Regions from separate parts of the Homo sapiens genome. Here regions 2, 3, 4, 5, 6 and 7 are each linked to region 1. Evidence: promoter capture Hi-C in 16 types of primary human blood cells and fetal thymus (Javierre and others, 2016). All regions are on one chromosome and are shown on one strand. The core of a region is centred on a gene start or on the middle of the fragment in contact, and the rest is flanking DNA. Distances in the headings are between cores, read along the strand shown.

The links. Contacts are between HindIII fragments. The CHiCAGO score rates a contact against its expected background, and 5 or more counts as called.
Region 2: a contact is called between a fragment that was not itself captured here and the fragment with the promoter of PTPN18 in region 1, in 2 of 17 cell types (neutrophils and monocytes). The highest score is 12.3, in neutrophils.
Region 3: a fragment that was not itself captured here is called in contact with the fragment with the promoter of PTPN18 in region 1 in 3 of 17 cell types (monocytes, neutrophils and total B cells); the score reaches 7.1 in monocytes.
Region 4: a contact is called between the fragment with the promoter of SFT2D3 here and the fragment with the promoter of PTPN18 in region 1, in 1 of 17 cell types (monocytes). The highest score is 9.8, in monocytes.
Region 5: a fragment that was not itself captured here is called in contact with the fragment with the promoter of PTPN18 in region 1 in 1 of 17 cell types (monocytes); the score reaches 5.5 in monocytes.
Region 6: a contact is called between the fragment with the promoter of MAP3K2 here and the fragment with the promoter of PTPN18 in region 1, in 1 of 17 cell types (neutrophils). The highest score is 7.6, in neutrophils.
Region 7: a contact is called between a fragment that was not itself captured here and the fragment with the promoter of PTPN18 in region 1, in 1 of 17 cell types (neutrophils). The highest score is 6.2, in neutrophils.

Annotation. Positions count from the first base shown.
Region 1 is chr2:130,354,006-130,357,465 of GRCh38, reverse strand. It overlaps PTPN18 (protein tyrosine phosphatase non-receptor type 18), which reads right to left and starts at 1,410. Exons shown (of 15, transcript NM_014369.4): 1 at 1,266-1,410. The coding sequence starts at 1,358. RefSeq lists silencers at 971-1,020, 1,161-1,830. The HindIII fragment of the contact is 15,291 bases long and covers 1-3,145 here.
Region 2 is chr2:127,868,670-127,872,177 of GRCh38, reverse strand. It overlaps AMMECR1L (AMMECR1 like), which reads left to right. Exons shown (of 8, transcript NM_001199140.2): 4 at 819-929; 5 at 1,250-1,364; 6 at 2,634-2,724. It also overlaps the pseudogene LOC107985803. Among named protein-coding and RNA genes, the nearest start is that of POLR2D, 12 kb to the right of the region's middle. The HindIII fragment of the contact is 9,720 bases long and covers 1-3,508 here.
Region 3 is chr2:127,889,969-127,893,185 of GRCh38, reverse strand. LOC107985944 (a long non-coding RNA gene) reads right to left here. Exons shown (of 2, transcript XR_001739707.2): 2 at 1-970. Among named protein-coding and RNA genes, the nearest start is that of AMMECR1L, 5.6 kb to the right of the region's middle. The HindIII fragment of the contact is 1,590 bases long and covers 809-2,398 here.
Region 4 is chr2:127,700,226-127,703,650 of GRCh38, reverse strand. It overlaps SFT2D3 (SFT2 domain containing 3), which reads right to left and starts at 2,154. Exons shown (of 1, transcript NM_032740.4): 1 at 1-2,154. The coding sequence starts at 2,122. The coding sequence ends at 1,475. It overlaps WDR33 (WD repeat domain 33), which reads left to right. Exons shown (of 22, transcript NM_018383.5): 22 at 1-2,624. RefSeq lists a silencer at 1,396-2,075 and enhancers at 2,395-2,916, 2,836-3,205, 2,917-3,425, 2,433-3,425. The HindIII fragment of the contact is 7,289 bases long and covers 1-3,425 here.
Region 5 is chr2:127,530,618-127,533,675 of GRCh38, reverse strand. No RefSeq gene overlaps it. Among named protein-coding and RNA genes, the nearest start is that of MYO7B, 3.5 kb to the left of the region's middle. The HindIII fragment of the contact is 4,708 bases long and covers 1-3,058 here.
Region 6 is chr2:127,386,725-127,389,994 of GRCh38, reverse strand. MAP3K2 (mitogen-activated protein kinase kinase kinase 2) reads left to right here and starts at 2,020. Exons shown (of 17, transcript NM_001371910.2): 1 at 2,020-2,543. MAP3K2-DT (MAP3K2 divergent transcript) reads right to left here and starts at 2,557. Exons shown (of 4, transcript NR_187129.1): 1 at 2,443-2,557; 2 at 997-1,114; 3 at 810-884. RefSeq lists a silencer at 1,731-2,600. The HindIII fragment of the contact is 12,520 bases long and covers 1-3,270 here.
Region 7 is chr2:127,470,235-127,473,362 of GRCh38, reverse strand. It overlaps the pseudogene RNU4-48P. Among named protein-coding and RNA genes, the nearest start is that of MIR4783, 48 kb to the right of the region's middle. The HindIII fragment of the contact is 1,373 bases long and covers 1,130-2,502 here.

The sequences.
Region 1 (3,460 bases), core at 161-2,660:
CAATGTTTATTGTATAAACGGTCATTTATAATACTTTTATATATTTGTCATATTTCTAAACTTGATACATGTCACCATATATCAGTTTATGCGTTTGTATGGTATGTTTCTATGTCTGGTACATAAGCGATTACACTTTAAACACGTCATCAACTGTAATGTACAGTGCCTAGCATTCTGCGTGAGCCTTCCTAATGCTGGGCTTGCACTACCTGTATTGTAACGTTTAGATTTTTTGTTTGGTTTTGTTTTGTTTGAGATGGGATCTCACTCTGTGGCCCAGGCTGGAGTGCAGTGGCACCATCTCAGCTGTGCAGTGGAACCATCTCAGCTCACTGCAACCTCTGCCTCCCAGGTTCAAGCGAGTCCCCTGTCTCTGCTCCCTAGTAGCTGGGATTACAGGCATGCGCCCATGCCCAGTTGATTTTTGTATTTTTAGTAGAGACGGGGTTTCGCTGTGTTGCCCAGGCTGGTCTCGAACTCCTGAGCTCAAGCGATCCTCCCACCTCGGCCTCCCAAAGTGCTGGGATTACAGGTGTGAGCCACCGCACCTGGCCCACGTTTAGAATCTTTATAGGCAGTGACGAACGCCCCTACGAAGTGTGCGCCCAATATGTACTAAGTGCTTTTCACCCACATCATTTAATCCTTAGACCAGTTTGGTCATTCATGTCCCCATTTCACCAAGGGAGAAGCCGAGGTCAGAGGGGCCAGGTAGACCGCCTGGACCACACGCGGATGGCCGGGACGCGGATTCGGGACGGGAAGCGGATTCGGGCCCGGACGCGGATTCGAGCCCGGCGTTCACACCCTCACCACGCCACAGCCTCCGTGTTCCTCTTCGCCCTGCTGCAGCCCCTTCCTTCCTGTGGTCACAGGGGACAGTCAGGTCGCCAGAAGCGGCGGGGCCGGGGCTGTCCAGCGCAGCAGGGCCGCCCGCCCTCCCCTGCGGCGCCCGCCCCACCTGTCCCGCCCGCAGCCAGGTTGTTCCGGGAGCGCGACGAGGACACCGGGAACGAGGGTGTGCACGGTCCGTCCCGGCCTGGCCGTGGACGTCGCGCTCCGGGGCCGGGGGGCAGAGAGTGAAGACGGAGACAGCAAGAGCGACAGAGAAGTGCTGGGGAGAGAAACACGGAGAGACCCCCCGAGGCGGGGAGACACCGGGGACACCGAGACAGAAAGGCAGAGCCCGCCGTGCGCGGAGGACAGGCGTACGCAGGGCCAGGGCCGGGGCGCGCCGCTCGCGGACCCCGTGTGCCACTCACGCTGAACTCGCCGGCGAGGACTGCCCCCTCCCGGCCGCCCCGCGCTTCCAGCCGCTCCAGGAAGCTCCGCGCCGAGTCCAGGCTGCGGCTCATGGCGCCGCGGGCCAGCAAGGTCCAGCCCGGCCGCCGCGCGCGCGGCGAGTGTGGACGCCGCGGGAGGCGGAGGCCGGTGACTGAGTCCCCGCCCTTGCCTCGGCAGCCAATGGAAGCGCGCAGCGGCGGGCAGGGCGCCCCAGCCACCGTGTTCTGAGCCCGCGTAGCCCCACCCCGGGCGCTCGGGCCGCTGTGGCCGGAGCCCTAGGTCCTCGCGGGCTGCCCTGAGCAGAGTCCAGCGCCGGCGCTTCCCCTTTTTTTCGGCTGCCGCGCCCACTGGTGGGGGGGTGGCACGGTCCCAGGTTCGCTCCCTGCCGCTTGGGACCCGCCCTCAGATCGGGATCCGCGCCCAGGGGCCGACCTCCGGGTGCCGGCTCTGGGTGGACGGCCGAGCGGTCTCGCCGGGCCCTCCCGCCCGTCCCCTGGGAGCCAGGCCGCGCGGAGTCCGAGCTGGGGCGGGCAGCAGCCTTGGGTGGAGACGGTCGCCGAGATCAGGCTGCCCCTCGTGCCAGAGGACCCCGGGTCGGGGGCGTCCCGCGCTGTGCGCTCCAGCCGGGCCCAAGGGAGGCCGGGGAGGGGCAGCCACGCCGTGGGAAAGGCCAAGTGGCAGCGGGATCTTCTCTGTGTATTTCCCGAGGAATTTGTGGTTCCTTTTTCCCGGATGCGCTGGGGCACCAGGGTCAGTCCTGTGTGAGCATCTCGACCTGCACAAGCCTGCTGGGAAACAGAACTGAGGCACTGGAAGTGGGTTCTGGGGAACGAAGAGCTTCTCTTTTTTGCCTGCCCTGACACTCCCATCTTCAGAAAGTGTGCAGAGGTCAGAGGAGAGCCGCCGTTCCAGCTTCCGGGATCACCGAGGGGAGGCTGGAGAGAATGGACTGGCACCTGGGTCTCTTCAAGGACAGGCCTAGGTTAGCCCCCTTCTCGCCGAGGTCGGAAGAATTAAGAGGGGTGTCACTGGAAGGGGCGTCAGTGGACACCAGTTTGAGGTCGTTGAGGGGTTGAAAGGTAGCATTGGGGCCTGGATGTGTGCCTGAGTCTCTGAAGGGTCAACAGGGGCATGATGTCAGGTGGTCAATTTAATTCACTAGGGGCTATCAGAGTATTTAAGGGCACACTTTCTTAAAGGTCCCGGTAGGAAGTGGTTTTGGCTTTGCTATCGCTGCCCCAGCTGCTTAACTCAGCTGTGGCAGCATGAAAGCAGACAATATAGTGTGGCTGTGTCCCAAAGAAACCATTTATGGACAAAGAAATCAGAATTTCATGTAATGTTCATGTGTCATGAATTATTCTAGTGTGTGTGTGTGGCCTACAGGCTGTCGTTTGCTGACCTTGGCTGAAGTGATGGAGCGATCAAAGTGGCTCTGTGGGGATCAGCAGCTAGGGCTGTTTGATTTATCGTGGGGTCCGCAGGGGTCACTGTGAGATTCATGTTCATCATTTATCAGTTTCATCTTTGAGCATTCTCAGGGAGGTAATTGTTTAGGATGGTGGTGATAGGGAATTCATTGGAAGCCAGTCGGGGTCCCTTGGATGTTCATGGGGGGGGGGGTGTCAGTAGATATTAATGACAGTCATTGGGAGGCCAGTGGATACTTGGGACAAGAAGTGAAAGTAATTGTGGGGCCATTGGGATTTGGAGTGTTAGTAATTGAAGGGTCCGAAGAGTCTGGGAAGTCATTGAGAGCTCTGCTCAGTGCATGATAGTGACTCTCAGTATAATCATTGAGGGTTTGTGGATGGCCATGGAGATCCAGGGAGGTAGAATACAGAAGCATCAGTAAGCTTTCAGAAAATAAAGACATTTTCTGGGAAAATGTGAGCCCCTGAGCACACATGGTTATTCAGGGCAGTCTTTATGGGCTAGAGGATCTCTGTCCAGCAGCAGGGATCCTGTTGAGGGCCTGTCCTCATAGGCTGAGGTCTGTCTGACTGGTGGAGGGCATGTCGTCCAGCTGAAGGTCTGGTTGACTAGGTGGGTGGGGTGTTCTCTCCTCTGGGGTAATGTCTCTGTCCATTTTGGGGAGGGCACCTGTCCTTGAGGGATTCTGACCTTTGCCTGGCTGGGGGGCCCAGGTGTCTCTCTGGCCACAGGCCTATTT
Region 2 (3,508 bases), core at 784-3,283, 2.5 Mb after region 1:
TCTCAGTCTTGTCGAGGCTGGAGTGCAGTGGCACAATCTCGGTTCACTGCAACCTCTGCCTTTCAGGATCAAGTGATTCTCCCACCTCAGCCTCCCGAGTAGCTGAGATTACAGGAGCCTGCCACCACGCCCAGCCAATTTTTATATTTCTAGTAGAGGCGGGGTTTCGCCATGATGACCAGGCTGGTCTAGAACTCCTTACCTCAAGTGATCCGCCCACCTTGGCCTCCCAAAGTGCTGGGATTACAGGCATGAGCCACTGCACCCGGCCTTTTTAAATCTTTTTTTAAAAATTAAAAAATGTTTTTTGAGGGAACTTTTTTTTCTGAAAATTTGTGAGTGGAAATATTTGTAGTTGTCAGGGGCAGACATGATCATGGAAGCAACATGGGTTTGCAGATGAACGGGGCTGTGCAGGTGAGGCGTGTCATCATGAAAGACGGAGCGGGGGAGCATGGCTACCTGGATAAATAGACTTAGGGAAGAGGAAACTGGAGAATTCGAAGGAAAAGTTGAGTCTTGGGCAGAGAAAGAGGAAAGTAGCATGTAAATTTGGCGGCAAAGTGAATTAAAGCTGTCAGCATGGAACATGGGAACCACTACACGGAGCCTTTCCTTATGCTGCCTTGTAGGTTTCCCGTTTCCAGCCAGGGGCTGTGCCGTTTTCAGAAAGGCAGAGAGTCCTTCGGGTAGCTGGCAAGTCCAAAAACAGGGATTTTTGGCAATAACAGAAATGAATAGGGACAAAGCCAAAAGGTTTTGTTCTTATCCATGATTAATTTGGGGCTGGAGAATGTTTTGTGTTTTGCTTTTTTTAGTCCGCTCTTTGTGACGTGGAAGACAGGGCGGGACAAGCGGCTTCGTGGCTGCATTGGGACCTTCTCAGCCATGAATCTTCATTCAGGACTCAGGGAATACACGTTAACCAGGTAATGACACCAGACATTAAGAACTGTAGATAAATTGGCTAGAATCAGAAATAGCTGCCTGACTTTATTTCTTCTAAGTGATGTACGTTGAGCTTTCTCTTTTTGGTAATCAGGAAATGTAAGGGGCTTAATCTGGTGAGTCAGTTATCAGTTCAAGTACAGACAGTTAATAGCATCGAGTTGTTTTTAACATGTTAGTGTTGATGAACAATAGATACTCTCTGCATAGCTCAAGATTCATAAATATGTGGGCTCTATGGCACCTGATATTGGCTCCTGACTCCAGAGCAGCCTTACCTATGTTTTCTGTCCCCCTCCAGTGCACTTAAGGACAGCCGATTTCCCCCCCTGACCCGAGAGGAGCTGCCTAAACTTTTCTGCTCTGTCTCCCTCCTTACTAACTTTGAGGATGCCAGTGATTACCTGGACTGGGAGGTGAGAACAGCCGCATTTGGAACTCTGCATCTCTCGTTGCATTTGGGTTCGGGTTAGTACATGGCAATGTATCTCCTTCATTGAGAGAAAGGGTATAAGAATGTGAAGGCTGAGTTTGGAACCAATTGTGGGCAACATAGGTGACAGAAGAGGTGCTGCTATACCAGGAGTAGGCAGAAGTGTCAGTGGAAAGGCTCGCTTCTCCTGATTCTCCCTAGTCTGCTTGGTTTACATCCTTCTCCCATGTCTAATAAGAGATAATGGGGTAAAAGAAAATATTCCAGATCCTTCTTGGCAAGCCCTGGAGTAAAAGTTTTTGTTTGCTTGTTTTTTTTTTTGAGATGGAATTTCGTTCTTGTTCCCCAGGCTGGAGTGCAGTGACGTGATCTCGGCTTACTGCAACCTCTGCCTCCCGAGTTCAAGGGATTCTCCTGCCTCAGTGTCCCAAGTAGCTGGGATTACAGGTGCCCACCACCATGCCCAGCTATTTTTTTTTTTTTTGAGACAGAGTCTCGCTCTGTCGCCAGGCTGGAGTGCAGTGGTGCAATCTCAGCTCACTGCAACCTCCACCCCTGGGTTCAAGTGATTCTTCTGCCTCAGCTTCCTGAGTAGCTGGGACTACAGTCGCGTGCCACCACACCCAGCTAATTTTTGTATTTTTAGTAGAGATGGGGTTTCACCGTGTTAGCCAGGATGGTCTCAATCTCTTGACCTCGTGATCCACCTGCCTTGGACTCCCAAAGTGCTGGGATTATAGGCGTGAGCCACCATGCCCAGCCATTTGTATTTTTTTAGTAGAGACAGGGTTTCACCATGTTGGCCAGCCTGGTCTCAAACTCCTGACGGCCTTGGCCTCCCAAATTGTTGGGATTACAGGCATGAGCCACCGCGCCTGGCCAAATAAAAGTTTTTATTAGGAATCAGATGTGAAGGATCATGACCCCAGATAAAAACCTTGTGGCATGTTTATTTAATGGAATAGGGTCAAGGAACATATTCACAATTCCTGGATGAATTACTTAAAGAATGCATTTCTCCTACCTTCATATTCTCAGAGTTGGCTGCACATACTCTCGACCCTTCCCTAAAAGCAGAACTTTCTTTGGCCTCTATACCTCCTGAGATAGAATTAGTCATGAAATGCGAGAAGGTCTCCCTTTTCCAGGCCTGTGTTAAGCTGGTCAGGGAACAATGTTGATTTATATGTGGGGACTGAAGTTCCATTAGAGTAAGTAAATGCCATTTACTTGGTTGTACTTTTTTCTATAGGTAGGGGTCCATGGGATTCGAATTGAATTCATTAATGAAAAAGGTGTCAAACGCACAGCCACATATTTACCTGAGGTTGCTAAGGAACAAGGTGAGTTGGATGAATGGGATTTTAATGACAAGTATCATTCACAGTGGTGCCAGTTAAAGGGCAAGAAAGTGAAGTGTGTCATCTTGCAGCCCAACTGCAGCTGAGAATGAGGGCCTTTCTGCCTCTTAATACCTGTCAAATTCCTATAGAACCAAGGGTAAACTTCCAAAAAGGTTTAGGAGCTGGGAAAAGCAAAAGGGTAAATCGTTCACTTACTCGCCTGATATTTCAAACACTTCTTTTCAATGAATAGTTTTATTTCTTAGCCCCTTAAACTACAGTGGCAATTGTAGCAAAATACCACCAATCAACCTGACCATATTGTAGAATTCAGTAGGTACCGAACTTTGGATCACAAATCATTAAACAATATTATACATGGCAAAGGGTGTAAACATAGTCCCTACTGTTTTTTAAAGAACTCAGTAGTCGGCCAGGCGTGGTGGCTTACTCCTATAATCCCAGCATTTTGGGAGGCCAAGGTGGGCGGATCACAAGGTCAAGAGATTGAGACCATCCTGGCCAGCATGGTGAAACCCCGTCTCTACTAAAAATATAAAAATTAGCTGGGCATGGTGGTGCATGCCTGTAGACCCAGCTACTCAGGAGGCTGAGGCAGGAGAATCACTTGAACCCAGGAGGCAGAGGTTGCAGTGAGCCAAGATCGTGCCATTACACTCCAGCCTGGTGACAGAGCGAGCCTCCATCTCCAAAAAAAAAAAAACTCAGTAGCCTATAAGTTCTTCTGATGGGGACGTTAAAGGTAGGGTGGATCGAGCAGATT
Region 3 (3,217 bases), core at 354-2,853, 2.5 Mb after region 1:
TGCTCCGGGCGGACATGCCCTGTCCCCAGTGCTCTCCCGGGCCTTGCTTCCTATGGCTGGTGTTGGTCAGAAGAAAGACGTGTGTGGACTGGGATGTCTGGGCTTTCTGTTTCTCCACAGAAATGTATGCCAGGGTTCTAAGGCTCTACAGCTTAGGAACTCAATTTCTCCAGAAGTTAAGATCGCTGCCCTAAGAAGAAAATATTCCTGACATGTTCAGCCCATGGAATTCACCCATTTATTCACTCTTAGTCGAACAGCCTTGCTGTAGATCCATGGAGCTTCCCACTCTGACGTGTCCCACATGCATGGTGTGGTAGGAAAGCCTTCACGTATTTTTTTTTTTTTTTTTTTTGGAGATGGAGTCTCACTCTGTCGCCAGGCTGGAGTGCAGTGGCATGATCCCAGCTCACTGCAACCTCAGCCTCCTGGGTTCAAGTGATTCTCCTGCCTCAGCCTCCCGAGTAGCTGGGATTACAGGCATGTGCCACCACACTCAGCTAATTTTGTATTTTTAGTAGAGCCGAGGTTTCACCATGTTGGCCAGGCTGGTCTCGAACTCAGGTGATCTGCCCGCCTTGGCCTCCCAAAGTGTTGGGATTACAGACATGGGCCACCGTGCCCCACCAGCCTTCATGTATTCTGATGGGCGGGGGGAGACAGTGGGACCAGTGAGCCAGGAGTCCTGAGGCCACCAGGCAAACTTGGTGTCACCCTCAAGTCATTGGATGGTTTCTCTTTCTCTGTGTCTGTTCAGTGATTTCCATTCAAATGGTTACTCTGTGTTGCCTCCAGAAGCCTCAAAGCTTAGTGTGGCTGTCCTCTATATGCATCATGTCCATGCCTGCAGTTTGTACCTCTCACAGCCTCTTCCTTCTGGGTCCCAGGTCCTTGCTCTTCTTCTGGGGTTAGATGTCAATTGTTTATTCGGTCTCATCGTTGCCCCATCGCGTCTGCACATCAAGGCCTCCTACCAAAAAAGTGAGGGAGAATAAAACAGTCTTTTGTTCTCATTTGTTTCCTTCTCTGAACTTAAAACTCACTATATTGAGAGTCCTTGCAACATGTGTTGCAGGAGTCTACAACTACATTTCCCAGATACTCTCACCACTTGAGTTCCTTTTAGATTCCGCCAGTGGGAGGTGCTGGGGAAAGACCAGACGGTAGAAGGAGAAAAAAAAAAGACATCTCCTCCTGATTTCAGCAACGATGGCACCCCTCCAGCAAGTGCAGGAAGTTCCAGCTCCCCACTTCTCAGGCTCTTTGACACCGGCCCAAGGGCACCCCTTAAGAGTTCTCAGCAGCAGCCCCATGGTGACCTGTCCTCCCAAGCTCCCGGGTGCTAGTAATGCTAATTCTTCCTTTTTGTTCTCTCAGCCCTAAGGGTGCTAGCTCCTTCCTACAGTTGCTCATTTTTGGGTTACCTCAACATCTGCTTCATTCTTTTAGCCTTCTAACCATGTGACCAAAAATCTCCTTTTGTTTGCAATGCCTGGTGTGGTTTTTCTTTCCTGAACCCTAACTGATACAGTACTTGGAATCAGAATTAGAGTTTATTTAAAACCTTCTGGAACACATACGATTTTCAGATGAATCTAAGGTACTTACCACTTCCTGCTCATTGGGTCCATTCAACAACATGGCACCAATGTAATGAATCAATGTGATATTCTGTGGGATGTCAGGAGGCTTAAAGTCTCTGCAGGTAAGATTATGGTGGACAGAAGGGTATGTAGCATAGCCCTGAGGCTAGACAAAGTGCATTGCTATCTCTGAAATAACTCCTTGTAGACTGGACCCTGGTAGATACAAGTATCTTTATTTATTTACTTATTTTTATAGAGACAGTGTCTCACTATGTTGTCCAGGCTAGTCTCAAGCTCCTGGCCTCAAGCAATCCTCCCGCCTCAACCTCCCAAAGTGCTGGGATTACAGGCATGAGCCACCATGCTAGGCTCAACATCTTTTTTTTTTTTTTTTTGAGACGGAATTTCGCTCTCTCGCCCAGGCTGGAGTGAAGGGGCGCAATCTTGGCTCACCGCAACCTTGGCCCCCTGGGTTCAAGCGATTCTCTTGCCTCAGCCTCCCAAGCAGCTGGGATTACAGGCATGGGCCACCATGCCTGGCTAATTTTTGTATTTTTAGTAGAGATGGCATTTTGCCATGTTGGCCAGGCTGGTCTTGACTCCTGACCTCAGGTGATATACCCGTCTCGACCTCCCAAAGTGCTAGGATTACAGGCGTGAGCCACCGCGCCCAGCCTTGGCCCAACATCTTTAATCATGAAAATCTGAGAGTGAGCTACATTTAGTGTGCATGAAGGAACCATATTTTTCCTACCTTCCATCTCAATCCCCTCACTGAGGTTGTAAAACAACAGGAGATCTTGTAAAAAGCTTAAATCTCTAGATTCAGGGAAGAGAACAAGATTGCTTTAAAAATAATGCCGGACAAACAAATTGTGGCATATTGTTCAATGTGTATTGAATGGCATAGTATTCTGTGCATCAAAGAAAAAGAATGAACTATAGTTGCACATAAGCAAAGGGATGAATTTCCTGGACATAATGTTGAACGAAACAGACCAGACCCAAAGGAGTATGTACTGGATGAGTCGATTTGAATGTCCGTGAATTCAAGAGCAGGCAAAACTATCCCACAGTGATAGAAGTCAAAATAATGGGTATCTTTTGGAGGGGATTAGGAACGGGGAGAAGGCACAAGAGAACCTTCTGAGCTGCTAGAAATATTCCACATCTTAAATTGGATGATGGTTACATGGATGGACACTAATGTAAGAATTGGTCAAGCTGTATACTTGAGCTGTGTGAATTCTAAACATGTATGTCCTCTCTCAATAAAAAAGCAATATAAAATGCTTGGTTACAGAGTAGCCATTTAGAGAGTATTTGTAGAATAAATGAATACGTGACTTGAGCTCTCCAACTCTGTTGCATTTATTTCATTGGTAGTACTAGTTTTTTTTTTTTTTTTTTTTTTTGAGACAGAGTCTGGCTCTGTTGCCCAGGCTGGGGTGCAGTGGCGTGATCTTGGCTCACTGCAAGCTCCACCTCCTGGGTTCACGCCATTCTCCTGCCTCGGCCTCCCGAGTAGCTGGGACTACAGGCAACCGCCACCATGCCTGGCTAATTTTTTGTATTTTTGGTAGAGACGGGGTTTCACTGTGTTAGCCAGGATGGTCTCAATCTCCTGACCT
Region 4 (3,425 bases), core at 905-3,404, 2.7 Mb after region 1:
TTGCTCTCTCACAAGCAGCCTCCTGAGGTAGGTAACCTTGTTTACTGATGGGGAACAAGGCAGTGTTCTTTACCAAATCTCAGGGCGGGTAGCCTGCAAGCCTACAGTGTGGATGTTGGCCACTTGTGTCACTTCTTGGGACGGGGCTTAGGGACCTGACTTACTTAGGAACATAAATTTTGGGGTTGGAGGAAGCAGCAGTGCTCTACTGCGGCACGACAGACACCCTGTTAAGGCAACACTGGGATCCAGCTCAGGAAAAGCATTACTTTCAAATTGTGCAAGCCAATGCACAGAAAAGTGGTCCTCAAACTTGGGGAACGTAGAATCACTTGGGGAGCTTTAAAAAGGTCCTGATGTCTGGGACCTACTTCCCAGGTTCTGACTGCATTGATCTGAGGTGTGGCTCTTCAAGTAACTGATGTGCAGTCAAGCGCGAGGACCACTGGCACACAATGTTTAAATTCTAAATATATTTTACTTCCTAGTGTATTGCTACTGACAAAACGTAGTTTTCTGGACTCATCAGAATGTTAGGCTCATACCTTCTGGCAATAAATTAAGGTAGTTAAAAGTAACTGCTGAACCTAAAATGAAGGCAGCAGCAATTAGATATAAAAAAATCTTAAGATCAGCCTGCAAATTGTAAACTAGTTTACAAAGCAGGCTATACAATGAGGAATAATTCGAGCTTGTAGAAATCCATGGTTTCCACCAGATACAGGTATTCCGGATCTAGAATTATCTTTCTATTTGCAGGATTTCCGAAGAGACCGTTAAGCATCTACGCGCCCCTTCCTGGATCCCATGCTTCTTGGGGCAGGAAATTTCTTTTGGTCCGTCGCTTTCGTCGTGAAATACACAACTAATTTTCCTTTCATGTTATAAGGCACCATATTTATGATTTTGTTAACTGAAGAAAAAACCCGAGATAAACCATCTTAAGTACTTTTAAAAGTCCAGTGGCTGAATTCGGTGTTTAATCTGATACCCTTCTGGATTCGCTGACACTGGAGAGAATAATTTCCAAGTCTTAGTATAGCCAAAACAAAAAACTACCGTCGCTAAGCTACATCTACCACTGGATTTTAAAATGACAAAACAGCCTGAGAAAAATCACAAGAGCAGCTAACTCGAAGAAAAATCCTTTTTCTTTACTCAGCCGAACCTAAGACCACAGTTACTTCGAAAGCAACTTCTAATAACCGTCTCACATCCTGTCACCAGTTCAATGACAAAATCTCAGTTTTCAGAGCGTGTGCCAAGTCCAGCACAAAAAGCTGACATCGAGGAGCTCCCAACGCTGCTGTCGCCTCCGCTGGCAGCAGCCGCTCCCGGATTAGACTCGCAGGCTGTTAGGGCAGGGCCTTCGCCACGGGCTTCCGCACAGCGGCGTGCAGTCCTCAGCTCGGCCGGCGCGGTCTCCGACGGCGCTGGCTCCGCGTACTTCCCCAGCGGCGAGGGCGCGAGGTCCTCACACGGGCAGCACCTTGGCGAGGCCGGCGCCGCGGCCCAGGCGACCCAGTGCGAGGCGCAGCGCGGTGCCGCCGCCCCAGGGCAGCAGCCCAACCAGCGCGGCCAGCAGCGCGGCCACCTGCGCGCCCGCGCCCAGCACCGTGAGCAGCGTGCTGCGAAGGCCCAGCGCGGCGAACAGCGTGGCGCCCAGCGCTGCCATGTAGAGCAGCGCGGGCCGGGACGGCGCTTCTTCGCAGCGCAGCAGGCGTCCGCACGCCGCGCCGCCCCGCAGCAGCGCGCTTCCCGCCAACGCCAGCGCCGAGCCCAGTGACCAGAGCAGCGCGAACTTGCGCGCGCGCAGCAGCAACACCGGTGCGTAGAGCGCGGCTAGGCCGAAACACAGTGCAGCCAGCAGCAGGCACCCGCCGCCCGCCGCCAGCCGCTGCCCGCGCGTCACGCTCGGGAGGCACGTCAGGCCGGCCGCTGCCGACTCCGCAGGGCTCCGCGCCCACGTCCAGCGCAAGCCCGCGCGGCCCAGCCACTCCTCCGCCGGCCGGTCCCCGGGCTCCTCCGCCTTCTCCGCGGCGAGCAGCGGCTCCGCGGCCGCCGGGCCGCCAGCTTTCCCCTGCGCCAGGTACTCCTGCAGCTGGCGGTGGAGGTCCGCCATCTTGGACAAGGCGGTGGCAGAAAGGAAAAGCTGCGGCTCACTTCCGGCCCTCCGCTGAAGCGGTTCGGTCTTCGGGCGGCAATTGGTCGGCGACGGCGAAAGGGGCAGGGCCTGCGGCGCTCGCGGAAGTGCCGCGGTGCCTGCTCTGCGGACTTTTGTGGTGTCCCCAAGTACCGTGGTCGCAGGTGCTGCCTGTCCGCTTGCAGTCGCCCTCCCAGCGCCTGACCCTCTTCCTTGTTCGGAGTAGGCGCCCTTGCGGTCTGGCTAAGTCCTGCCAGCATTAATAGTTGGAAGGCAGGGGTGGGTGTGGTTCTAAAGGGGCACAAGAAGTGACCCTTTTGCTGACGGAAATGTCTTATGGCCTCACTGCGTCTACCGTGGCGGTGATATTGTGCTAGTTTTGCAACATGGAGGAATGGGTAAAGGGTACACAGAATCTCTCTTGTTTCTTACAACTGAACACAAACAGTGATCTCAAAATAAAAATTTAATTTTTAAAAAAGTTCAGACCTGTGTAACTCAGGTGGGTTTTTTGGGGAAAGTTGCGTTCTGATTAGTTACCTCACTTGTAGTAATAGTGACCATCCTGATCATTTACCATGGGGTTGATAAAGGAAGGGTTGACACCCAGCACCCTCAACCTGCTTCTCTATTCTGTTCTCAGTTTCGGCCACAGGCCTGGCAACATCCTTGACTCCTTCGCGCCCCTTGTCCAAGACTCGGTGCTGCTGTCCCATGTGTTTGGTGTCACTCTCGTGCTCTGGACAGCGCCACGCCCAGGTGTCCTGACTCATCGTCACATCACTGTGACAAGCTGGCTCGCACGCAGGTCAATCCTGATCTGTTCCCAGGCCGCACCCACGTGCCCTGCTGTTTCTCAGAGCCTCCTAGAGGGTGTTTGCTTGTGGTTCCTCTCACAGGTCAGATTCCTCCAGATTCTTCCAGCTGCCTCCACAGCTCCCCTCACCACCTTGGCTTCCCCTGGGTGGCCCTGTGTCCTTTGTCCTCTGCCCTAGGTGGATGTAAGGTTAACGGCTTCCTGCTGTTTGGCTTCTCAGCCTTTCCATCCCCTGTGTGTAACTAATCTCCCCCATTAAGTTCCTTTTAATGCTTTCTGTTTTCTTGGTTGGATCCTGGCAGATGCAATTCTTTTTCAAAATATATTCTGATTTGTTATCTCACTTGATAATAATAGTGACCAGCCTGATCACTTAGCATGGGCTAAACCATTAGGATGGCTACAATCAAAACAAAAAAACAAAAACACACCAGAAAGTTACAAGTGCTGTCAAGGATGTGGAGA
Region 5 (3,058 bases), core at 1-2,500, 2.8 Mb after region 1:
CTCTTTGTTGACATGGCTTGAAGGAGTTTCTGTATCTTAAAACCAAATGGCCCATCCCAAAGACAGGGAACCAAGCTGGGAGATCCCTTGAAGGACCACTTGGAGGGAGCTGCATGTTCCGAGTCTTTCAGGCGGCCCCCTGTCCCGCCTGTTCCCCCTAGAACAGCCCCCCAAGTTCTGCCCTTGCTCTGACTAGCCTCCTGCTCCCTAAAATTTGGTTCGGTTTCTGGGTCCACACTCAGCCTTTTTGAGCTTCATGCTGCACATGGTTTCTCGGGTTTAGAAAGATACCATTTAGCTCCTCTAGGGCTGACGCTGCTGCTCCTGGCAGCTCCCAGAGATGGTGAACCCCTTGCTCTGGGGCTGAGACTGAGTCCTCTTCGGACCTTTTCTACTGCCCTCATGTAAGAAAATATTGGGACAGAAAATCTGTGTGGACCAAAACAATCTGTAAGATGTTCCCATCCAGTTCTCACCTTATGCAAAATTTGACAGAAACACATTTTAGATACTGACCTGCTATTCTCTGTCTCTCTCTATTTTATGTTACACATTATATCACAAGAACTTTCTGACACTGTACCAAACTTTTACCATTGGTCTTTAGAAACAGCGTGACAGTATGTCACACAAGTGCCCCATCATTTGTATACCCATCCTCCCTGGATGGACCCTGGGAGGTACCCAATCCTTTGCTGTCACACACAATACTGCAATGAACATATCTGTGCTCTCAGCGTTGTTTGCATTTTGTCATTATGGAAGATTCCAGTGGGATCTCTGGAAGAAGATCTTCCACTATGGAAGAACAGTGGGCATGAATTTTTGGTTGCTAATATTTCTCAAGTGGCATGCCAAGTCCTCCCTCCCAGTCAAAACTGCGCCTATGATTGCAAGGACCTGGTCTGATTGCTGTGTGAGTTGGTGCAAAGGGGGACACCCTGAGGCATGGTTCTCCTGGAGCCTCAGGCTTTCCATAGCCAAGGGACCCCAAGCCCTGGAAATCAAGAAGATGGGTTGGGGAAAGGCAGGGCAGGCTCTTCCTGGTAACACGGGCGACCAGGCTTGGCTGTCTCCCAGCCCAGTGCTACTTCCACAATTAGCGTAGTGCTCATTTCCCAAGACGCAAATATTCAGCTAACCTTGAAAAACATGTTTGTGAGCTGAGCTGAAATGCGCCCATGGACAACCTATGGTTCATTCCATTCCTGTCAGTGACCAAGCCCATTATAGCGTCATCACAGCGACTGACACAGAGCAAGCCTTTCGCTTCAGCTCTACCAGCATATCATAGAGCTAACTGAAGTCACTTGCTTATGGTGGCCCTAATATTCCCATCTAGGCTACAGCAGCCAAATTATCCATTAACCCTATGAAACAGCAAGGTTGGCAGCACAGACCTCTGCGACTGAACTACTCTTTAGAACATTTTTGAATTCTCAGTCTCAGAAAGAGCTGGCATGTGATAAGGATTTTCTCTGTGCTGGGCTCTTTGCTTGTACCATCTCACTCAACCCTCATCAAACCTCAACAAATGAGGGGTGCTTCTCCTCATTTCATAGCAAGGAAGTTAAAGTCAAAGAGGTTATGAAACTTGCTTAGGCCACACAACCAAAAGTGGCAGAGGTGCGGTTTGAATTAGGGTGTACCTGACCCCATGGCCTGGGCTTATTGGGATGTATTATACCACGCCAACCCTCAGACAAACCAGACCTCCTCCTTCCTCACCCCAGTGATGCATGAGACATCCTATCTTCAGAGATTTAAAAAAAAAAAAGGTGTTTCCCCAACTTGCTGGCCCTAGCCCAGGGTTTGAAAGGCCTTGCCCATTTTGTTGCCTTGGTTTCTGAGATGCTGGGGCAAGGGAATATCTGGGAAGAGAAGCAACGCTTAAATGCTTCCCTGGAAACACAGTTGTGCACAGTACAAGACAGTAGATCACAGGGCACATTCTGTCCTGTAGTTCAGGGTTTCTCAGTCTTGGCATTATTAGCGTTTTGGAGTAGATTGTTCTTTGTTGGGGAATGAGAGGCGTTGTCCTGTGTACTGCAGAACATTTAGCAGCAGCCATTGGTTATGTCCCCACCCCTAGTGGTGACAAATCAAAATGTCTTCAGATATTATTGCCAAATGTCTCTGGGGGACAAAGTCCCAGTTGGGAACCAATATATAGTTCACAGGCCCAGGTGCCATTGGAGGCTGGGAGAAAGAGGAGGCCAACAAAGACCAGAACGAATGTCCTCCCGGAAGAGGTGACCCTGACCCTTGGGCTCCTTCAATGGCAGGAAGATATGGCTCAGAGGGAGGGTGCATGGAAGATGAGTGCTTCCTGGAGGATCTTGGTTCTGACATGCCAAGGAGATGACTGTGTCATCAGGCAAACTCAAGTACTTCATCCTCCGGGAACAGCAGCTTCAAGATAGCTGCTCCTAGACTGGGAAGGTCTTGGATCCAAAGTCCTGATGGGCCAGCTAGGCATCCACAGTCTCAGCCCAGGAGGAAAGGACTCATTTCTGGTGGTGCTTTTGTCACCATAAGCCCTCTGAGGAAACTACCCAGAGATTTGTCCAAGGCAGCAAGAGGGGGAAAGTAGGGGCACAAAATGAAAAGGTCACCTCCTCCTCTCTAGAGGGCTTTGGGCAATCCAGTGGATAAATCTGTCTTAGGCCCTAGCATTTAAACCTAGGTCACTGGCCATAAACATGGGACCTCTGTCCCATGACCAGGGTTAATGGCATATCCTGATGACTAATCTTATTGCCCTGGGGGAGATTGAGATACTGACAAGGAAAAGCAAAACTTGCTTACGTGTCAACTCAATAAACTAAATAAATGAAGTTAATGATGCTAATTATGACGATAGTAATACTTTGCCTAGCTCTTGGAAGATAGTGATACTTTGCCTAGCTCTTAGGCTCATTGCTGAGAACTTTATTTCTGGGAAAAGAAGTACTGGGGTGGATTTCTTAACCTTGCCTGGAATGCTGCATATCCACCAAGATCACTTTCCTTTTCCTCTTGGTCCCACAGTGGACATACTCTTCCCTGCCTCACTCAC
Region 6 (3,270 bases), core at 771-3,270, 3.0 Mb after region 1:
GCTAAAAAACAGACACTGTTTTAAGTCACTAAGTTTGTGGCAGTTTGTTATGCAGCAACAGAAAAGGAACATGCCACATTTCCTCTCTGAAGTCATCTCTCACTTCCCCAGACACACCTGTGACATCTTCCTCTTGCTGCTGTGGTGCCTGATACACATCCCTCCCATGATGCAGGTCACAGTGTGTTATCATTATCCATTTACCTGTCTGCCTTCCTCACAGGATTCTGAGTTCCTGGGCAGTGGGGACTATATAATTTTATCACTGCAATCCCAGGCACAGAGTAGGAAGGCAAAAAAATATTCATTGAATGATGGTTTCATCAATAAAAAAATCCCAATATCACTAATTTGTAATCATATATACTAAAATAACCAAAGATGTCAGAGATTTAATATCTAAGCAAGAGGAAAAGTCACCAATATAAAAGGAGAATGGCGAAAAAGAAAGAATAGCTACTATAACTATACCCACGGGATGTTTCTGAGGAACCCAGAGGTGAATGAAGTCCCCGGGGTGGTAAGTGAGGGAAGGGAGTGGAGAAATGAGCAGCACTATGAGGGGAAAAAATTTATCTCTAGATTACTTAGTAAACAAACACGTTTTTATTGAATGCCTGCTATGTGGTGACCCAGTAACTGTGGAGAACAATATAGATATTTAAGATTTAAATACTATCCTCCGGCGTTCTGAGACCCTCCTTTCTGTGGCATACAGGTCTTAGAATGTTAGATTCAAGAAGGTCTTAGATTTATGCATAAGTCCCCCATTTTTTAAACAAATAGAAGCAAACTGATTTTCCACTGACCTCTGTGTTTCTGAGGTGCACATCCTTGTTCCTGTGACTTTGACACCTCTGTTAATGGGTCTGTAATAAAAATTCCTGGAAGAAACCCAGAGATATTTTGACATTACACAACAGTTTCTCCCTCAGTCTCTGCCCCACAAGTGCCAGCTCCCTTGACCCTCAGAGCCCAAGTTGGGTAGCTCCTTACCTCTGGTTCGGGTGAGTCCCATTCCCATCTCTCTCATTTCAACTGCTCCAGTGGAAATGTGGTCTGGAATATGCATGAAAGGGGTGGATCCAGAATGTACGAAGAAACCAAGAAGAAGCTGAACAGGGAAGAATGGTACAGGAAGTTGTAAGGGGTATTTAAGGAAAGGAGAAGAGATGGGGCGGAAAGGTGCTTTCTGGATCAAAGTAGGGTGAAAACGTCGGGATGCAGGTTAGTCACACCACGGAGGGCCTCACCACTAGTCTGATTAATTTGCATTTTATCCTGTGGGAGATGAGGAGCGAAAGAAAGGGTTTTAGACTCTAGCTTTGGGGGTGGGGTGTCAACTCATGTCTCTGGGCTTAAGTTTCCACATCTGTTAAGCTGGAGAAGTAATACTTGCTGGGCTAACCAATGTACACAACCAGTCATAACCAAGTATCGATGGTGATAAGAACTAAACAGAAAACACAAATAACACTTAGCCAGTCTCCAAGGGGGTGGTTTAAGGTTAGGTGGCAAGCCTGAAGTAATTTCTAAAGTCCCTCAGGAAAAAAATTCTGAAACTTGAGCCACAAATTAAGAGGCAGACGGCTTTTCTCCTTGCAAATGACCTGCCACACAGTCCGTCACTGCCTCTGCTAGCTCTGCTACCCTTGGGCCCTGTCCACAGCCCACGTGGGAGACCTTTTCACGGGATCTACTCGGATGTCTGGGATCTGGCCACTACCGCAGGCTCGAGACAACCCAGGTGCGTATGCGCCGCGCACACGGAACAGCACAGGCTGCCCCGGGGCAGGGGCGGGGGCGGGGCCGAGGCCGGGGCGGAGCCAGGACTGGGAATCCCCGCGCCGTCCGGCCGGTGGGGGCGGTGGCCTGTGTGTGGGCGTGGCGGGCCTCTGCGCAGGCGCCGACCCACTCCCCTGGGCCGGGCGCGCGCCCGCGGCGGGTTCCGCTACCGCCGGGCGGAGGGGTGCGCGCGCACGAGCGAGCGGCCGTGACGTGCGCCGCGCTACGCCCGACGTCACGGGTCCGTGTGTAGTGGCTGCCGGGCTGCCTGCCCTCAGCGGCGGCGCCTGACGAGGGTGCCGCGGCCGCTGGGCGCAGCGTTCGGGGGTTGCACGGCCCGCGGCGGCGACGAAAACAACGACCAGGACGCTCGGCGCCCCTGTCCGCAGAGTCGCCACTCCCGCCTCTTCTCCGGTCTCTAGCGACGCGGGCCCGCGGCTTCCTCCTTTCCTGCCCAGTTCCCGCGGGCCTCGGGGTTGCAGCGGCTAGAAGTGCCGAGGAGCGCCAGGAGGACCCGGCCGGCTGCGAGGATTCACGCGCCCGCCACCCCGCCCGGCCCGGGCTTCATGTGAAAGAGGGACGGGCCTGGCCCCAAGGCCCGCGCCCGACTCCTCGCGCGCCCCTCCGGTCCCCGGGGGCCCTGCGGCAGCCCCCGACCTGGGGCCGCGGTGACAGGCCGCGCTGGGGCGGAGGGGCGGGCTCGGCGGGGGCGGCCCCTCCTTGGGCCTGCGGCTCTCTACGTCCCTGCGGAGCAGCCGGTACGTGCGTGTGTGCGTGCGCGCGCGCTTGTGTGTGTGTGTGTGTGTGTGTGCGCGCGTGTGTGTCGGGGGCCGCGGGCTGGGCGCCGGGAGGGGGGCTGGCGGCGGCCTAAGCGCCGCTCCAGGGGCGGAGATTTCGCTGGGTGATTGCCTAGCTGCGGGAGGGCGGACCTTGGGCCCCCTGCATCCAGTCCTAAAGCCCAGGTCAGCGCGAAGTAGGCTGCTGGGCTGTGTTAGCTGTCAGACACGTACCCTGCAGAGATTTTAGAAGAAAGGTTGCATCTGGTCTTGGGATGAAGCAGAAATGGTACATGCAGTAAGCGAAAAAGTGCTTGTCTTTGCACTGTCACAGTGTGGTAATCTTTTGATGTAAGGTTGTTTCCCCCTTTTCTCTTTACGGAATATTTAGGTAGCACTTAGGGTGCTCTTAGTCTGCGCCCGGCAGTTGTCATGCATTATCTCTCTTCATCTTCCCAGCTCAATGAGGTGGGTAAATTGCCCCATTTTGCAGGTGAAAACTTGAGGCTCAGAGAGATTAAGGCATTTGTCCAAGGTCATGAAGGTAGTAATCCAGGAAGGCTTGGTTCGAATATGCAGATGTCTTTTTGTAAGACTGTATTTCTCGTCTTGCAAAAAATAAATACGTTTAGAAAATGAGACTAACTGGGCAGTTTCTTTAATGGGATAAATTCTAAACACATAGACAGATACAGTTTAGTTTTCCCTA
Region 7 (3,128 bases), core at 567-3,066, 2.9 Mb after region 1:
GTTACGAACCAAAATTGCAATAATACTGATTTTTATATTTGTCTATGTGTTTACCTTGAAAGGAAAAATGTATATTTTTATACATCTTTGAGTTACTGTCTAGTGTTGTTTACTTACAACCTGAAGGAAGGGACTCCTTTTAACGTTTCTTGCAGGGTAGGTCTAGTGGTAATGAATTCCTTCAGCTTTTGTTTATTTAGGGATATCTTAGTTTCTCCCTTGATTTTGAAGGATAGTTTTACCAGATACAGAATTCTTGGCTGGGCGTGGTGGCTCACACCTGTAATCCCAGCACTCTGGGAGCCTGAGACAAGCTGATCACTTGAGCTCAGGAGTTCGAGACCAGCCGGGGCAACATGGCAAAACTCCATCTCTACAAAAAATAGAAAAATTAGCTGAATGTGATGGCTCATGCATGTAGTCCCAGCTGCTCAGGAGGCTGAGGTGGGAGGATCCCTTGACTACAGGAGGTAGTGTAGTACTGCAGTGGGCTGAAATCACACCACTGCACTCTAGCCTGGGTGACAGAGTGAGACCCTGTCTCAAAAAAAAGAAAGAAATCTTGGTTGACAGGTTTTTCTTTCATCACTTTAAATATATCATTCTATTGCCTTCTAACTGCAGAGTTTCTGCTTAGATTGTCCTGGCAGGGGTAGAGAGAGACTACTAGTAAAGTACTGTACAGTTTTTTGGAAGGCATTGGTAACCACTGTTTATAAACCAAGTCTTCCCCACCTGCCTGTGTACTGTTCCTCTCAGACAGGCAGAAATTATTGAATCAAACTCCATACTGTCTCTTTCTGTGATCTTCCCCTATTGCAGCAGCAGAAGTCCTCTGACGTAAGACTCCCCCTGGAGCAGGTAGAGTGTTGTTTGGAGTGATGTAGATGTCTATTACTTGTACATTAAAGGATTACAGAGATGTTTGGTAAGTCCAAAGGGGTAGGATTACCCAGTGTAGTCATGGGCTAGAAATGTTGCAAAAATACCTGAGCCAAGGTCTCAAGTTGGCTGACTTTGTACTATTAAGCTACAGACATGCACTTCATATGTTCATCAGTTTTTCAATTAGCAATAATCACTCCTTGAGTAAACCTCATTGGCTATGATACTGCCACTGCGCAAAGCTTGTTCATCAGTTTTTGAAGAAAATGGAGTATGTCACAGGATTACTTGCGTGCCTTGTTTTAAGCAAGCTCAACATATAAAAGTAATGGTTTCACCAAAACTTGAAGGTTATTGTTTGGTAAGAGATTCAGCAGAAGACTTTAAAAACATTTTTGTTACTTTAAAGAAGGACTCGAATTACAAAGTTTGAAGAAGCAACTAGTAAAAACACCACTCACTTTAGAAGAAGAGGGTTTAGGTCTGTTCTCCCAAAGACTGGTTCTTACAAAACCCAGGGTCCTGGGCCCAAAGGTTCTTTCTGTGTCATAACTGCTTAAAAATGCGAGAGGAGAGATTCAGGGTGTGTCAGTCCCAAGGACAGACAGCTAGATATCCTTTGGTTCTACTTGACCTGGGTAGCAGTGGGCGAGGCTTTAGGGAAAACACTTTGTAAATTTTATTATGATGGCATGTAAACACACAGGACTGGCAATAAAGTGACCTGGAGTTTGGTCTCCAGTATGAGAGGATCTCTTTTGGGCAAAGGATGATATTGCCACACAGTCAGGAGAGGGGATGAGCCTGATCTTTGAGTTTGCAGGGGGAGTGATTTATTTGTAATTCTTTATTTTATGATTTTTGTGCAAGAAGTTAAGTATTTTGGCTAGAGATAGCATGGAAATTGAGTGAGTTCCCCAGACCAGTTCTATGTAAGACCAGCAGAGAAGGTTAGGTCAGTGAGCACTGGTGTTTCGAAGGCTCTCCTGGAAGTCAATCAATGTAGTCATGAGCAGCAATTCCAAGCTGGCCTCTACTAAAAACCAGATCAGGGAAAAAGTAGGGCCCAGGTCAAAGAGACTGTGAGCTCCCTGGGGCAGGGACCAGGTCTGTCTGATTGTCTCTATTTGGCTTGTTGAACTGAACTAACATATAGCACTTGTCATTTGACACCGATTATAATTCTGTGAGATGATATTTGCATCTTAGATGAGGAAAATGTCCCATAGAGACCAAGATGCCTCCCATCTACAGAGTGGCTGAGTCAATTCAAGCTCAGGTCTCCTGATTCCAGATCCTGTGTGCCTTCCTGATCACCATATCAGCTAGATCTTTTCTATGTAGAGTATGCAATAGCTTTTATTCAGACTTTTCATTCCTTGGCTTTTATTTTCTGATCTTTCTTAATTATTGCTATTTTGTTTTTATCGAGGAAATCAGAGAGAAAGCTATGAGACAGTTAAAGCCTGTTAAGGGTTTATTGAGAATATAATGATATTCAATATGAAATAAAAATCAAATACACTAGAATTGCAGCATAATCATACCTTAGAGTTACTATAAGATTAAGTTGGAATCGAGTTGATCTTATAGTAATGAATTTTCTTTTTTAAAGCTTTTTAGAGCAAAACCTAATCAATCCCATAGCATGAGGGACAAAACCTATGTCAATCCCATAACATAAGTGGCATATAAGGAATATCCTGTGCATTTCTCTACAGAAAGGGAAAGGAAGCAGAACAGACTTTGTGCCTACCAGGTGTTGGGCCCAAGTTGTTGGGTCTTACTATGACCTTTACAAGTATTACCCTCAAGTTTTCCAACAAGTGGTCATCATTACCTTTCTATAAGTGGGAAAAATAGATTTAAAGTAAGTGGCTACCCAGAGTCACACAGTAAATAGCAAGCAATCCATGGATCTAAACTGAATTATTTCTGCCTCCAGTGCTCTCAGTTATGCTGTGGTGTTTTCTGGATGAAATACTAGGATTTAAATATATGCTTAGAGTTTTTGTGTCAAACCTTAAGTTGCTCTTGTACTTTGTTAAACTTGTACCATCTGAAATGAACACCTGTATCCATTCTCTTTCAGGTTTTGCTGTTACTGCTCAGTGTAGTCACACCTTGAATAAGAAATGGAAAACCTTGGGATGTTGATAAAGCTAATATCCTGAGGAAGAACTTCAGTGGGTCCCAGCTGAGTAGGAGATGGGATTCAACAGTACTGGTACGTAGTTAGGCAA